Linked DNA regions of Homo sapiens: regions 1 and 3 are each linked to region 2. The links are contacts of gene promoters, found by promoter capture Hi-C in blood cells and fetal thymus (Javierre and others, 2016). All regions are on one chromosome and are shown on one strand. Each heading gives the region's core, a stretch centred on a gene start or on the middle of the fragment in contact. The rest is flanking DNA. Distances are from core to core; before and after follow the strand shown. Region 1 has its middle 20 kb from the start of MDM1. Region 2 holds the start of NUP107 (nucleoporin 107). Region 3 overlaps LOC105369818 (a long non-coding RNA gene).

Region 1 (4,563 bases), core at 136-2,635, 330 kb after region 2:
TGATGAAACAGAGGTCCTATAAGCATTTCGTAGCTCTGGTGCTGAGCTCAGGACTTAATGTATATCAAGGGCTCCATAGTGTTTATTAAACTGGAATTTGACTGGTTCTAAGGAGTTAGTCTTATCGTGATAAAAACTCTGGACTTGGGGATGAGGCAAGTGCTTTTTTTTTTTTTGAGGCAAAGTCTTGCTCTGTTGCCCAGACTCGAGTGCAGTGGCATGATCTCGGCTCACTTCAACTTCCGCCTCCCAGGTTCAAGCAATTCTCCTGTCTCAGCCTCCCGAGTAGCTGGGACTACAGGTGCATGCCACCACACCTGGCTAATTTTTGTATTTTTTTTTTTTGAGATGGAGTCTTGCTCTGTCACCCAGGCTGGAGTGCAGTGGCACAGTCTTGGCTCACTGCAACCTCCACCTTCCGGGTTCAAGCAATTCTTCTGCTTCAGCCTCCTGAGCAGCTGGGACTACAGGCATGTGCCACCATGCCTGGCTAACTTTTGTATTTTTATTAGAGACGGAGTTTCACCATACTGGCCAGGCTGGTCTCAAACTCTCGACCTCAGGTGATCCACCTGCCTTAGCCTCCCAAAGTGCTGGGATTACAGGTGTGAACCAGCGCGCCCGGCCGGCAAGTGTCTTCTTTAAGAATATGGAGATATTGACTTATCATCATTAGTCTCTAGGATTTCTGTGGGGGCTACTTTTCTGTCTTTGATTCCACAACCAGGTCAGTCTTCCTGGTTGACTATATAGCTGCTTGACTATAAAGCGGTTGAAAAAATTCCCTGTGATTACTTGATTATGCTCAGATTTGTTAGATTCTATTTCAGTAGAATATGTTGATATGAATTTGCCAACATGTTGATAGGTATAACTTGTAAAGAGGGCTGTCTGGTTCAATATTGGCTTAAAGCAGGGAAGAGGGTTTCTTTACTGCAGGGCTTCCTTGCACCTTTAATATGTTAATATGCATTGGTGATCTCTTAAAGGGGGAATAAATATTTCATCAATTCTAAGTAGCACTTCCCTCTGTACTTTATTATCTCTGAGGTAGGATGCTTCTTACAGTCAGTGGTATCTTATAGCAGTTGTTGGTCAGGCAGCAGTTTTGCCATGGTTGTCATTGCCTGGGTACATGCGATGTTGGCCATAGCTATTTTTGTTGTCACATCAGCTGAGTTAGGTATATTCCTAGCACAGCATAGAATGATGTTTCATTGCTCTTTAAAGTATCTTCATAAAGATCACACCATGAATTGGTATTGACATGAAAAGTTACTGTATATGTCAAAAGGTATGGAAACAGAGCAGTCGGGTATATACAAGATCTTAGAGCAGCAGAAGCTCATCATTGTAGGTTAACTACATGTCTTAGTCTATTTGAGCTGCTATAGCAAAATGCCACAAACCGAGTAGCTTACAAGCAACAGAAATTTATTTCTCGAAGTTCTGGAGGCTAGAACATCCAGGGTGAAGGCTCTGGCAGATTCAGAGTCTGGTAAGGGGATACACTTTCTGGTTCATGGATGGTGCTTTCTCACCATGTCTTCTCATGGTGGAAGCGTCAATGAGATTCTCTCAGGCCTTTTTGCTGTTGTTGTTAAAGTGAAAACAAGTTTATTAGGAAAGTAAAGAAACAAAAGAATGGCTATTCTATAGGCAGAGTAGCCACATGGGCTGCTTATAGTTATTTCTCGATTATATGCTAAACAAAGGGTGGGTTATCACGAGTTTCCTAGGAAAAGGGTAGGCAATTCCCTGAACTGAGGGTTCCTGTTCCTCCCCTTTTTAGGCCATACAGGTTAACTTCCTGACATTGCCATGGCATTTGTAAACTGTCATGGCACTGGCGGAGTGTCTTTCAGCTTGCTAATGCATTATAATTAGCATATAATGAGCAGTGAGGATGACTAGAGGTCACTTCCATCCCCATCTTGGTTTCAGTGGGTTTTGGCCAGCTTCTTTTCCTCAACCTGTTTAATCAGCAGGGTCTTTGTGACCTGTATCTTGTGCCAAACTCCTATCTCATCCTGTGACTAAGAATGTCTAATCTCCTGGGAATGGAGCCAAGTCGGTCTCATCCTTATTTTACCCAGCTCCTATTCAAGATGGAGTTGCTCTGGTTCAAATGCCTCTGACATGTTTTCCCCTCCCTTTTTACAAGGGGACCCTTAATCCTAACGGTTACAGAGGGATGAAGAGTCACCCTCTGTAACTTCTTCAGGCTGAATAGGGGCTGAATATTCCTGTCTCAGGCATTTTTTAATGTGCACTAATCCCACTCATAAAGGCTCTGTCCTCAGGACCTAATCACTTCCCAAAGGCCCCACCTCCTGTTACCATCACCTTGGGGGTTAGGATTTCAATGTATGAATTTTAGGAGGACAAACATCTAGCCCACAGCACTACAGTTCCTTATCTTCTTGCAAAGCAATAACCAAATGCTTGATAGAACTTAAGAAAGGAAGATACCCAGTAGCTAGGGCTATATTTGTTACCGAGGTAGGCGCACAAGGAGTGGCTACCACTCACCAAGGGAGCAACACAACTGAAACCAGGAAAATCGCCAAATCCCTGGGGAAAGCATTGTGTCCTAATTTAATTGGCATTGCTTTTTCTTTCCTAGTGGTATGTAATCAATAACTTTGTAGATTTGATGACATATGTTAGTGTGAAGCGTTTTCAATCTTATTTGACCACAGGCTCTTGTTTCCCTAGAAACATCTCTTGGAACTACTGTTCTGTAGAATTGAATAATGATAATATTTAATACTTACAATTAGCCAGTCAGTATTTACATTTTTCACCTATATTAACTAAATTAATTCTCACTACCATCTCATGAAATAGGCACTATTGGCCGGGCGCAGTGGCTCAAGCCTGTAATCCCAGCACTTTGGGGGACTGAGGTGGGTGGATCACCTGAGGTCGGGAGTTCGAGACCAGCCTGACCAACATGGAGAAACCCCGTCTCTACTAAAAATACAAAAAAAAATTAGCCAGGCATGGTGGCGCATGCCTGTAATCTCAGCTACTCGGGAGGCTGAGGCAGGAGAATTGCTTGAACCTGGGAGGCAGAGGTTGTGGTGAGCCGAGATCGTGCCGTTGCACTCCAGCCTGGGCAACAAGACGGAGTGAAACTCCATCTCAAAAGACAAAAACAGAAACAAATACAAACAAAAAGAAATAGGCACTATTATTTTCCCCATGTTGCAGATGAGGAAACTGAGGCACATGGACATTAAGTAACTTGCCTAAACTCACACAGCTAGTGTAGTAGAGCAAGGATTCAAACCCAGGCAGATTGTGTGTTCTTTAGCAGTAGGGCCCATAGTTTGGAAAACGCTATTCTAGCCACAGACTAGGGAGGAGAATGCTGCAAATCCGACTCATAGCTAAAAAATGAATAAGTGGCACAACCACCACTGCTTCTTAAAATAGCAGGAATCTACAGGGAAATATAAAGATTTCTTTGCTCTTTGTTTATATTGTGAATGTGTTGTTACCTTTTGTATATGCCTTGTTCACTCCCTCCAGGTTGTGAACATTAAGAAAGAAAGTCACTGTCAGTGCGACACTGAAGTAGTACAAGTTTAACCTGAAGAAAATACCAGAATAAGCCGGATAAATATCAGCGCCAATGTAGGCCAGATCTGAATGCCCTGAAATGATCCATTACCTTACAGGTTGCTGCTGCAGTGAAAGGGAAGCTGTTGCTTTTTTTTTCCCCCACAAAGTTGGCGGGGGGGGGGGGCACTTATAGAAACTAAACCACTTTGTGCCACTCTTCCCATCTTTCAAATTGCTACTCTTTGTGAGATAAATTTCAATGAACCAGATGGACTTGCTGAGAGAGGTACCAATCTTCTATTAGCTCAGTCCCTAGGGAAGAGGCAGGTGACAGAAGGAGTTAGGCAGAAAAATAAACCAGAGAACAAAAGATGGTGTCATTGCTTGGAGCCGTGGTGATGTTCAGGTGCCAGGGGCTCAAGTTTCCCAGGCAGCTGAGCTAGGAGGATGATTTTGCTTACTCCATCTTAAGAGGTTTCAAACTCTGCAACATGGTTTCTCCACATGCGGGTTGCTTCTGAAGATTTGTTTGGTCTCCCTGAGATATGTCTGGCCCTGTACAAGCTGCTAGTGAAAACAACACTAGTACCTAATGGTAATTTAAGGAAATTATACTGTTCCGGAGACAAAATGCTGTTCAGTTGCTATGTATCTGTGCCAACTGGGTAAGAAAGGAAGATGATTCACAGCCCTGTCCAGTGGGACCGGTGAAATGCTTCATTACACCTTGGTTCCAGGCTGCTTTTTGGGGCAAATGCTTTGGCATTTGTGGATTCCAGAAGGATTGTAATGATTAGACATAGACCAAGGTTTAACTTGAATATTAACTTTATTTTTTTATTTAAATTTTAAAACCTGCACCAAGCTGAATTGGGTATTAACTTTTAGGAGAGAGAACACACAGGTGTTAGACCAGTTGTATAGGATCTTTCATGTTCTTCACCCAAGGTGGATAAAAGATATGGATTTAACCTTAATACATGAATTGTAGCC
Region 2 (4,398 bases), core at 1,196-3,695:
ATTTTAGGGCTACCATTTTTCAATGCAAAGGGTAAATAATTCATTGCTTCTGCCATTTAAATGATCAGATGTCAGTCTTAGATAACTACACACTGAACTAAATGTTTTTAGTCAGTTTTCAAATAATAAAAAGAAATCTAATCTCAGCAGAAGCTGTCAGCAGTAAGAAATATCTTTATTTTTAGGGAAATACGATCTCATTAAATTTTTGCATTATATTTACCAAATGACAGCTCTGTGGAGTGAAAAAAAGTTTCTACAGGATTTTATTATAGCTACCATTTAATACTCTTATAAAAAGAAAATTCTACAACACTGATTCCAAACATGTTACAATTTTTATAATGATGCTTAAATCGCAAAGGATACGTAAAACTCTTTTCTGAGCACTCTGTTTCCGTGCAGTCCGTGTCACCTCTGCCTCCCGGATTACAGGGGATGATATCTCTCCAAAGCCACTCCTAAAGTAGTATAATCAAGCTTATATAAGTGAAACGAGAATATAGCATTTATAAAGAATTTTATCATCACAGTTGGAGTAAAGGACCCTGAGTAAGTTAAGGTATAGTCATTCTAGTAGCCAAGTCTTAGATCTTTTGTTGAGAACGCACTCCTGGCTCCAAATCCTGCTTATTCTTCAAAGCCTTACTCAAATCTTACCTGCACAAAGACTTCTCTGACTTTCTAGTACTCACTATGTTATTTTCTCCTAAGGAATTATTTCAACACTTGGAATCTATATTATAACACTGTTTTAGATAATTGCTTCATGAAAGTGAATCTTATTTCCCTTGTTGGATTGAGGAGTTACCTAACTGCAGGAATTCTCTCTTAAAAGATTTTCTGCAGTCTCCAAAATGCTTTAAACCATGGGTACTATTAAAAAACAAACAAACAACAACAACAACAAACAGAGCTTGCAACAACAACAACAAACAGAGCTTGTGAGATAGAAGGGTAAGTAAAAGAATTGTGGTAAATTGGAGCAAAATGACCCTTCAAGTTATTTCAACCCAGGAGGTCTCCTGTCCCATCACAACACTCCCTGTCAGTTTCACTCAAAGGTCTAGAAACTAAATTGTGCGGACTAAAAGGCCTGTGTTTAAGACAAGAATCTAATATGCTTTTCCTCCACTTAAAACCTTCAGATATTCCTTCAGCAGGAAAGTATGGGAAACAACCACATAGAAACAATTTTAAACGTTTAACAATTAAAATTAAAAACAAAAAAAAAAACCTTCAGATAGCTCTCTGGTCTATAGAAGTAAAAATTTCCTAAAATGATATTTACAATGTGACCCCAGTTTAGGGGTTCAGTCTTCTATTCAGCCACAAACATCACTTTAAACGTATACTGCATGTGACCACTGAGCTACACGTACTTTTTTTTCATATCCTAGCACCTCTGAATATGCTTCTTTTACAAAGACCTACATTTGCCCCCTTGAGCACCTGGTCAACAACTACTTACTCCTCAAAGAGCCTCAGGTAGGCTGGAGACACACAGATGCAGGTTGGCAATTTGGTTCTTGTATTTATTAGCTTCCGAACTTTCAGCAAGTTCCTTAACCTCTTTTAGTCTCAGTGTTATATATGAAAAAAGGATAACAGTACCCATCTCATAGGATTTTTCTTGTTCTGAAGATTAAATAAGCTAATAATATATATTCAACGCCTTTAGAACAATGGCAGTCACATAGTAGGTACTCAATGTTTGGAGTACGAATAATGTACTCTTATTATTCAAAGACCAGCTAGAAAGTTACCTTCTTTGAGGGGTCTTCCTGATAGTTACAGTGACAAGGAGACTTAATCGCCCCCAAACACTTACCACTTTACACTGCTTGGTTGTCTCCATTACACAACTAATTCCCCGAGGGGAAGGATCTTGAATAACTGATCTTTGTTGTAGGCGGCTAGCACAGTACCCAGATCATAGAGGGAACTCAGAATCTGATGCTGGCACTTGTAATCAGAAAGTCTGGGCTGAGATCCCAGTATCTTCACTGACTGGCTTTGTGATCTCAGGCTGGTCACTTAGCATTTCGAACGCCGCGCTACCTACCCCGCCCACCCCAGGAGCGAACAGTGTTGCTGCCCCAAAGCGCCGAATAGATCGCAGAACGTAGTGGGAAAGTAAGGGACTATTATGATCTGTACCCCACCCCGACGCACGCCAAGCGGCTTTTTCCCCATTTGTGGCCAAATTTCCCGGCATGGGGAAGGAGCCTTAGGGGAAGCACCCGGGACCTCCTTGGCTTCTTCTGGGAGTCTAGTTTCACCTATTTCGTTTCGCCAACAGGCGAGACGGGCAAGACTTCGGGCTCAGCTGCCACCATCAGTACTGACCTGTCCATGGCTAAAGCCTTTTCCACACACAACCAAAGTTGGCTGCAGTTTAGCTACCGCGTTTTAGCCTTCCCGCTCTCCGGAAGCAAGCCCTTCGACCCGGAAGCAGTCTGTCCCTAAAACAGACCCACAGAAAAGGGGTAGGGGAGAAGAAACAACGTTCCCATCTAGCGCATGCGCGACTTCAGCCTACAGGTGCACGCCCGGTGGGCGCAGGCGCAAAAGTTTGCCAATGTGTTCCTGGTTGCGTTTAGCCCAGACGCCCTGCGGCCGCTTTGCCTGACCAAAGTCTGTGGGCGTGGAACAGGCCCTGGGTTCTCCTACTGGGAAGAATGAAGTATGTTGATAGTCTGGAAAAATGTGAAGTCATTTCCTGGTATTCTCTGTCAGAAAGCGCCTGTTCTTGGAATTCAGATGCGTGGGCTCTGCCCCACACCTCGGGGATCTCTATCTCTCTGCCTACACTCAGTCCTTTGTTCTGTAGCCCCCTGCAGTTTTTGCAACTATTTTCCATAACTGCTATTTGTTCTTTACTTGGTGTTCTTTCCTATTAAGGAGAAAAAGTTCACCTGTATTAAAAAGTAGAAAGGCAAGCGTGAAATATGATGGTATTGCCCTCTATTTCAAAGTGCCGTCTAGGCAAAAAGTGGTGTATTTTGGTCTTGAAGGAGTCAGTCACATTTTTGTTTTGGTTTTTGTTTTTTCCAGTTTGAAAGTAGTGACTGGCTATTAACTGACCAGATTACAAAAATAATGTTAGATGCTTCAGTTTATCCGTTTAATAAGCCTGTTGATATAGTCTTTTCTGTTGCTGGCATTTATACCTTTTATTAATACAAAATAGGTAGTCCTTCATTCTCCCTCGTGGAGAAGATAATTTGAAGGATCACAGGAACTTGAGTTTTTCAACAGCATAGATCTCATGAATCAGATTCTCCAGTCAGATGATGCCATATTTATCAGGAAATCTAGCAATCAAAGCGTTATCTGTTAAGGTAATTTGTTTATTGATTTTGCCATAACCAATTTGTAGATCAGTTCATTTACTGATTTCAGGTTCAGGTACTCCATGTGATATATGGTTCCACAATCCTCAGCGTGTTAACTGAAGCCTTGTTGAGTTTAACAAAGCTGCCATTGAAGATCTGGGGAAAGTGAAGAAGTTGCAACAGAGTTTTGGGCTCACACCATTGATACATTTGATCCTTAAGGCAAGTGACAATTTGGGTTTCACAGGTATATAGAAATTGCCAGCTTTTCTTGCCATATATTTCTTGTGACAGTGCTGAGCTTTTTTTTTTTACTTCTTGCTTGCTTTTTTTTGGACTTGATTTTTTAAATTATGTTTCCTTCCTTCCTTCTTTCTTTGTTTTTTTTTTTTTTGAGACAGGATCTTGTCCTATTGTCCCGGCTTACGTGCAGTGGCACAGTCACGGCTCACTGCAGCCTTGACCTCCTGGGCTCCAGCAATCCTCCTACCTCAGCCTCCCTAGTACCTGAGGTTGCTGGGACCACAGGCACGCACCACCATGCCTGACCTCCTCTCCTCCCCCGTTTTTTAAAAATATTTTGGAGAAATGGGGTCTTATGTTGTTGCCCAGGCTGGTCTCAAACTCTTGGGCTCAAGCCATCCTCTTACCTGGGTCTCCCAAAGTGCTGGGATTACAGGGGTTAGCCACCACATCTGACAGTGCCTAGCTTTTTCATAGATGTAGCTTTCTCCTTGCTTTTCTTTTTCTTTTTTTTCGAGATGGAGTCTCATTCCATTGCCCAGGCTGGAGTGCAGTGGTGCCATCTCGGCTCACTGCAACCTCTGCCTCCTGGGTTCAAGCGATTCTCCTGCCTCAGCCTCCTGAGTAGCTGGGATTACAGGTGTCTGCCACCACACCCGGCTAATTTTTGCGTTTTTGGTAGAGATGGGGTTTCACCATGTTGTCCAGGCTGGTCTTGAACTCCTGACCTCAGGTGATTCACCTGCCTCAGCCTCCCAAAGTGCTGGGATTACAGGCGTGAGCCACTGCGCCTGGCCTTCTCCTTTCTTTTCAAAGC
Region 3 (4,303 bases), core at 1,695-4,194, 500 kb after region 2:
CAGCTTAGAACACAATAGGGGCTCAAAAGAGTCTAGTGGACGAATTAAGCATGATTTATTACATGCAGCAGAAGTTTTGTCAAGTTTGTCAGAATGAAAAGAGGCATTATCAGTTCTTTGAGGATAAAAGTAGTAATTCTCATATTAAGAGATGTTTTGAGGATGATTCTCGCTATTAATCTGTGGCAGAAGACTGCTTTGAGGAACATGGCATATGTTTGCTTTTTCTCCATATCTCTGAATAGATGTTAGCTCTTATAGACAGCTATTTATTTCTTTTAACCACTTGTAATTTTCCACTCAACAACTTCTAAAAGAGGCAGTAGAAGTATGTTTTATTAGTTTCAGAATAGATTTTTTTTAAGAGTCTGGCTCCATTCTTGGAAAGGTTGAGTTTATAACTTATTTTTAGAAATTTCTGTTCTTAAAACATAAAATAGCTCTGTTTGTTGATGGTGCTTAATCTATTTTGTTGCTATTCTGCTTTCCCCACAACTGTGCTTTCTAAATTCTGACACGTTCCATGATCCTCAGAAATATATTGGCTGTGGCCATTTGGTTAAATGCATGGCCTAACGTGTTGTTTTCACCAGACCAATCACCAGCTGGGTAATGATACAGATTATATTATCATAGAGCAAAATGGCCTATGGGGCACTTTGGGTGCACTGTTTTCTTAACCCTTAAAATAATCCCATGAGGCAGCATGAGCATTTTCTCACTCGTTAGCCTGACATTCAGGGAGTCCTTATCTGGCCTTTTACTCTCATCAATCCTAACCTAAAATTCAGCATATAGTAGGTGTTCAACAAGAGTTTGTCAAATAAATGACTGAATAAGTTTAAAAATCCATCTCTCATTACCCTTTGACATGTATGCCTCCTTCAAGATCAGTCTATTTTTTTAAAAAGCCCCCAACACGAGACAAGCTTATTTCTGCTTTCATGTCCTTCTGTGTGCCAGATTGTCCATCTGCTATGTCTTCTCTACTCTTTTATTTCAAGATAAATTATATATTTTCTTCATGATCTCCTCTGCTCTACTAAGTCTTGCATGGCCACTGTAGCCCACAATGAATATTCCCTTTTGGTTAATTTCCCAGTGTGATTGAAGATTACCTATAAATACATGCTGAGCTTTCTCTATGTACCTGATTTTGTGGAAACTATTTACGGTTCTGCTGTTTTATTCTGATATAGCTTTCCAAGTGTTTCCTCAAATTTTACTACATTGTGTATTTTACTCATTTAGCCAACAAAGATTTATTTGTTTTACTTATTAAGTGTCAGGCTCTGTCCTAAACGTTAAACAGGTGAACATACCATTCTTGATAGGGGGACACAGAAATAAACAAAGGAGTAAACATAAAGGATGTCAGAATAACAAGAACAAACAAGCAGGAGTGGGGGGGTTTCAGGGACTGGGGAAGGGCGGGGACTGGTTTGCTCTTAAAAAAAAGGCTGATCAGAGCTGGGCACAGTGGCTCATTCCTGTAATCCCAGCACTTTGGGAGGCTGAGGTGGGTGGATCACGAGGTCAGGAGATTGAGACCATCCTGGCTAACACTGTGAAACCCTGTCTCTACTAAAAATACAAAAAAATTAGCCGGGTGTGGTGGCAGGCACCTGTAGTCCCAGCTACTTGGGAGGCTGAGGCAGGAGAATGGCGTGAATCTGGGAGGCGGAGCTTGCAGTGAGCTGAGATCACACCACTGCACTACAGCCTGGGTGATAGAGGAGACTCTGTCTCCGAAAAAAAAAAAAAAAAGGGCTGGTCAGGAAAAAGCTCACCAATGAGGTGACATTTTTGCACAGACCTGAAGGATCCTTACAATGACTAAGGAGTAGAGAGTAAAAAGATTATTGATTTTGGTTTTGTAATTTATGTGGATGTAGAAACAGGCTTGGGGATGTTAAATATTTTTAGTAGCATCACATAATTATCATGAAAGAAGTTAAAGCCATGATCTAGAAGATTTTACAATTCTCTGATTCACCTGTTGTGCCTTATTTTCTCTCAGGTAAGCTTCTTAGTTATCTGGTTACTTTTAACAAATGGCAGAAACAACTTCTTAACTATGGAAGATTATGTTCTTTTGATTTACCAAATTATTTATCCATATATGCAGAGAATATATTTTCTGAATGAAAAATTGGGCAGCAAACTCTGAAAAGTTCTAACATGCTCAGAGGGACAATGGGACCACATAATTGAAGTTGGCACCAAACCATGAATATCTGGTCATCATAATAATATAGATGCCTTGGACATAACAGCAAGCACTAACCACAAAGTAATGGTGTACTTTGCCCATAAGAAAGAAACAAATGTGTGACTGAAATCAGCTTTTCTCACTCTATTGCATGGAATATATAGTATTTCCTCAACATATTAGTTTTCCTGTTTTAAACTTACAAAAGTGTTTTCTTATTTAACAAGTTTAAGAAAATGGTGCAAACTATATTTTCTGTATGGGGAATTATAAAGCCCATCAGAATGTTACAGGTTGGAGAAGTTCCACATTAAAACAACTCTTTAACTTTGTTTAATATGAGTTTCTAGAAGATTGTTTCTTCCAAGAATACATTGGCCTTGTAGGCACTTAGTCAGATCAAATGCCTTGTTACCTAGAAAACAGTTTGGAAAACACCAGTTCACACAAATGGTTATCTTGAGATGAAGCAGAGCTAGAAAAGTGTATTATTAATGAAGAAGAAGAAAAACAACAACTACTGGATTTCTCTTCAAAGAATAAGAAAAACATTTAAGGAAGCAAAATGCTGATATGATAAATATGTTTGGAGGAGATTAGAAGAGATTTTAATAAGTATATATAGATAATAATTTTTATGTTTGCTATTTGTATTTATTGAAACAAAGTGAATGTCGTAAGTGTGAAATGCACTGAAGAGACATCTCAGATTGCTGCTTCCTGCTCACCTCATCTACTGAAAAAACATGGTGTGTCACCACAGTGACTTGCCTTTACCCACAAGTGAGGAACTCAGTTTTATTTCCTAGATAAAATGGAAGTGCCAACGATATTCACTTTTTTTCTGTTCATCTGTAACATCTTGGGAATGACCAATGACACTTTCCTACTGAGAAAGAAAACTTTTCATGGTAGTAGTAACCACAGATTTGGATGATGACTCACATTATTACATTAGTAACATCTTTTGTTCTATACTCCACACAAGGAAAAAAGTGCTGAATGCAAAACCACAACTTCAGCTGTCGGTGGAAATGATAGTTAATGGTGCTTTGCTGCTACGCTGGGGGCCAATTCTTGGTAGAGAGGATTATCTTGAATGTGGTTTCTAAATCAATAGATAAGTATGAATTGTGGCACAAATTATATAATATAATTGATTATCATACTTTTAAAATAGATTGAATCTTTTTTGTAAGAGAAATCTGGTTGTAAATTATATTAAAAATAAAATTTTATCAATAAATATATATGTAGATATATATAAGTTATAAACAACTCAGAAGGCCCCTAGATATGGAATCAATTAATGCTTTCTATAAGTTATTTCAAAGGCTAACTCTAAATTATAGTGGGAATAATTTTGGGCTTCAGAGTATGAATTTGGAAATCCTAAAGCCTATATTGGAGAGTTATGATAATCAAAATGGCCAAGACAAGTCCTAGGAGACAATAGCATTTAGTTGAGTGCCTTTAAGAAAATCTAGATTTGTCAAGTAGCTGGTCAATTTTCACAAACATAGCTGAAACAAAATATATTTCAGAATAACATAGGCTTTCTGTGACCATTTCTACACTTGTAAAGTTCAATGTCTAAAAATGTTGGGATGACGTTTTTTTCCCCTCAAGTATCACTTAAAAGAAAGCTTTTAGGCATATAATTCACTTAGATTTTTAATTTATCAATAGTTTCTAAAATAATCTTCTCTGAGAGTGTTGTCAAGGTAAATTCTAAAATGTATTGTTTTAAATTTGTCATGTAACAGGACATTTTACTTCAGAGCTCACAATTGGTGACCATAATATAAAATGTAAAAGAAAAATAAATCCTTTACTACTATTCTGTAATGTGAATTTATTAGTGTCACCACTGAAGCAGCTACAGATAATGATGCTGCCAACAGAAATTTTAGGTGGATTGTGATAAGCATTTCGAAGCAAGTTTTGCCTATTTTCCATAAGCAAATTTCCCGATTAATAAATCAATACTCCTTTAAGTGGCCCATTCTTTCCTTTTTGGATAATGATTTTGAAAGAGAGCTTTCTAAGACATATTACATAGGTTCCTCTTACAATAAGTTTATTCTACGT

What was found. Contacts are between HindIII fragments. The CHiCAGO score rates a contact against its expected background, and 5 or more counts as called.
Region 1: a contact is called between a fragment that was not itself captured here and the fragment with the promoter of NUP107 in region 2, in 16 of 17 cell types (total CD4 T cells, naive CD4 T cells, naive CD8 T cells and 13 more). The highest score is 22.5, in total CD4 T cells.
Region 3: a fragment that was not itself captured here is called in contact with the fragment with the promoter of NUP107 in region 2 in 2 of 17 cell types (activated CD4 T cells and naive CD4 T cells); the score reaches 6.7 in activated CD4 T cells.

Annotation. Positions count from the first base shown.
Region 1 is chr12:68,349,777-68,354,339 of GRCh38, reverse strand. No RefSeq gene overlaps it. Among named protein-coding and RNA genes, the nearest start is that of MDM1, 20 kb to the right of the region's middle. The HindIII fragment of the contact is 6,840 bases long and covers 1-4,563 here.
Region 2 is chr12:68,685,025-68,689,422 of GRCh38, reverse strand. NUP107 (nucleoporin 107) reads right to left here and starts at 2,445. Exons shown (of 28, transcript NM_020401.4): 1 at 2,350-2,445; 2 at 370-461. The coding sequence starts at 2,357. LOC100507250 (a long non-coding RNA gene) reads left to right here and starts at 2,564. Exons shown (of 3, transcript NR_038930.1): 1 at 2,564-2,686; 2 at 3,406-3,560. It also overlaps the pseudogene RPL7P42. The HindIII fragment of the contact is 6,312 bases long and covers 483-4,398 here.
Region 3 is chr12:68,188,827-68,193,129 of GRCh38, reverse strand. All of the region lies in intron 1 of LOC105369818 (a long non-coding RNA gene), which reads right to left. Among named protein-coding and RNA genes, the nearest start is that of IFNG, 31 kb to the right of the region's middle. The HindIII fragment of the contact is 1,833 bases long and covers 2,028-3,860 here.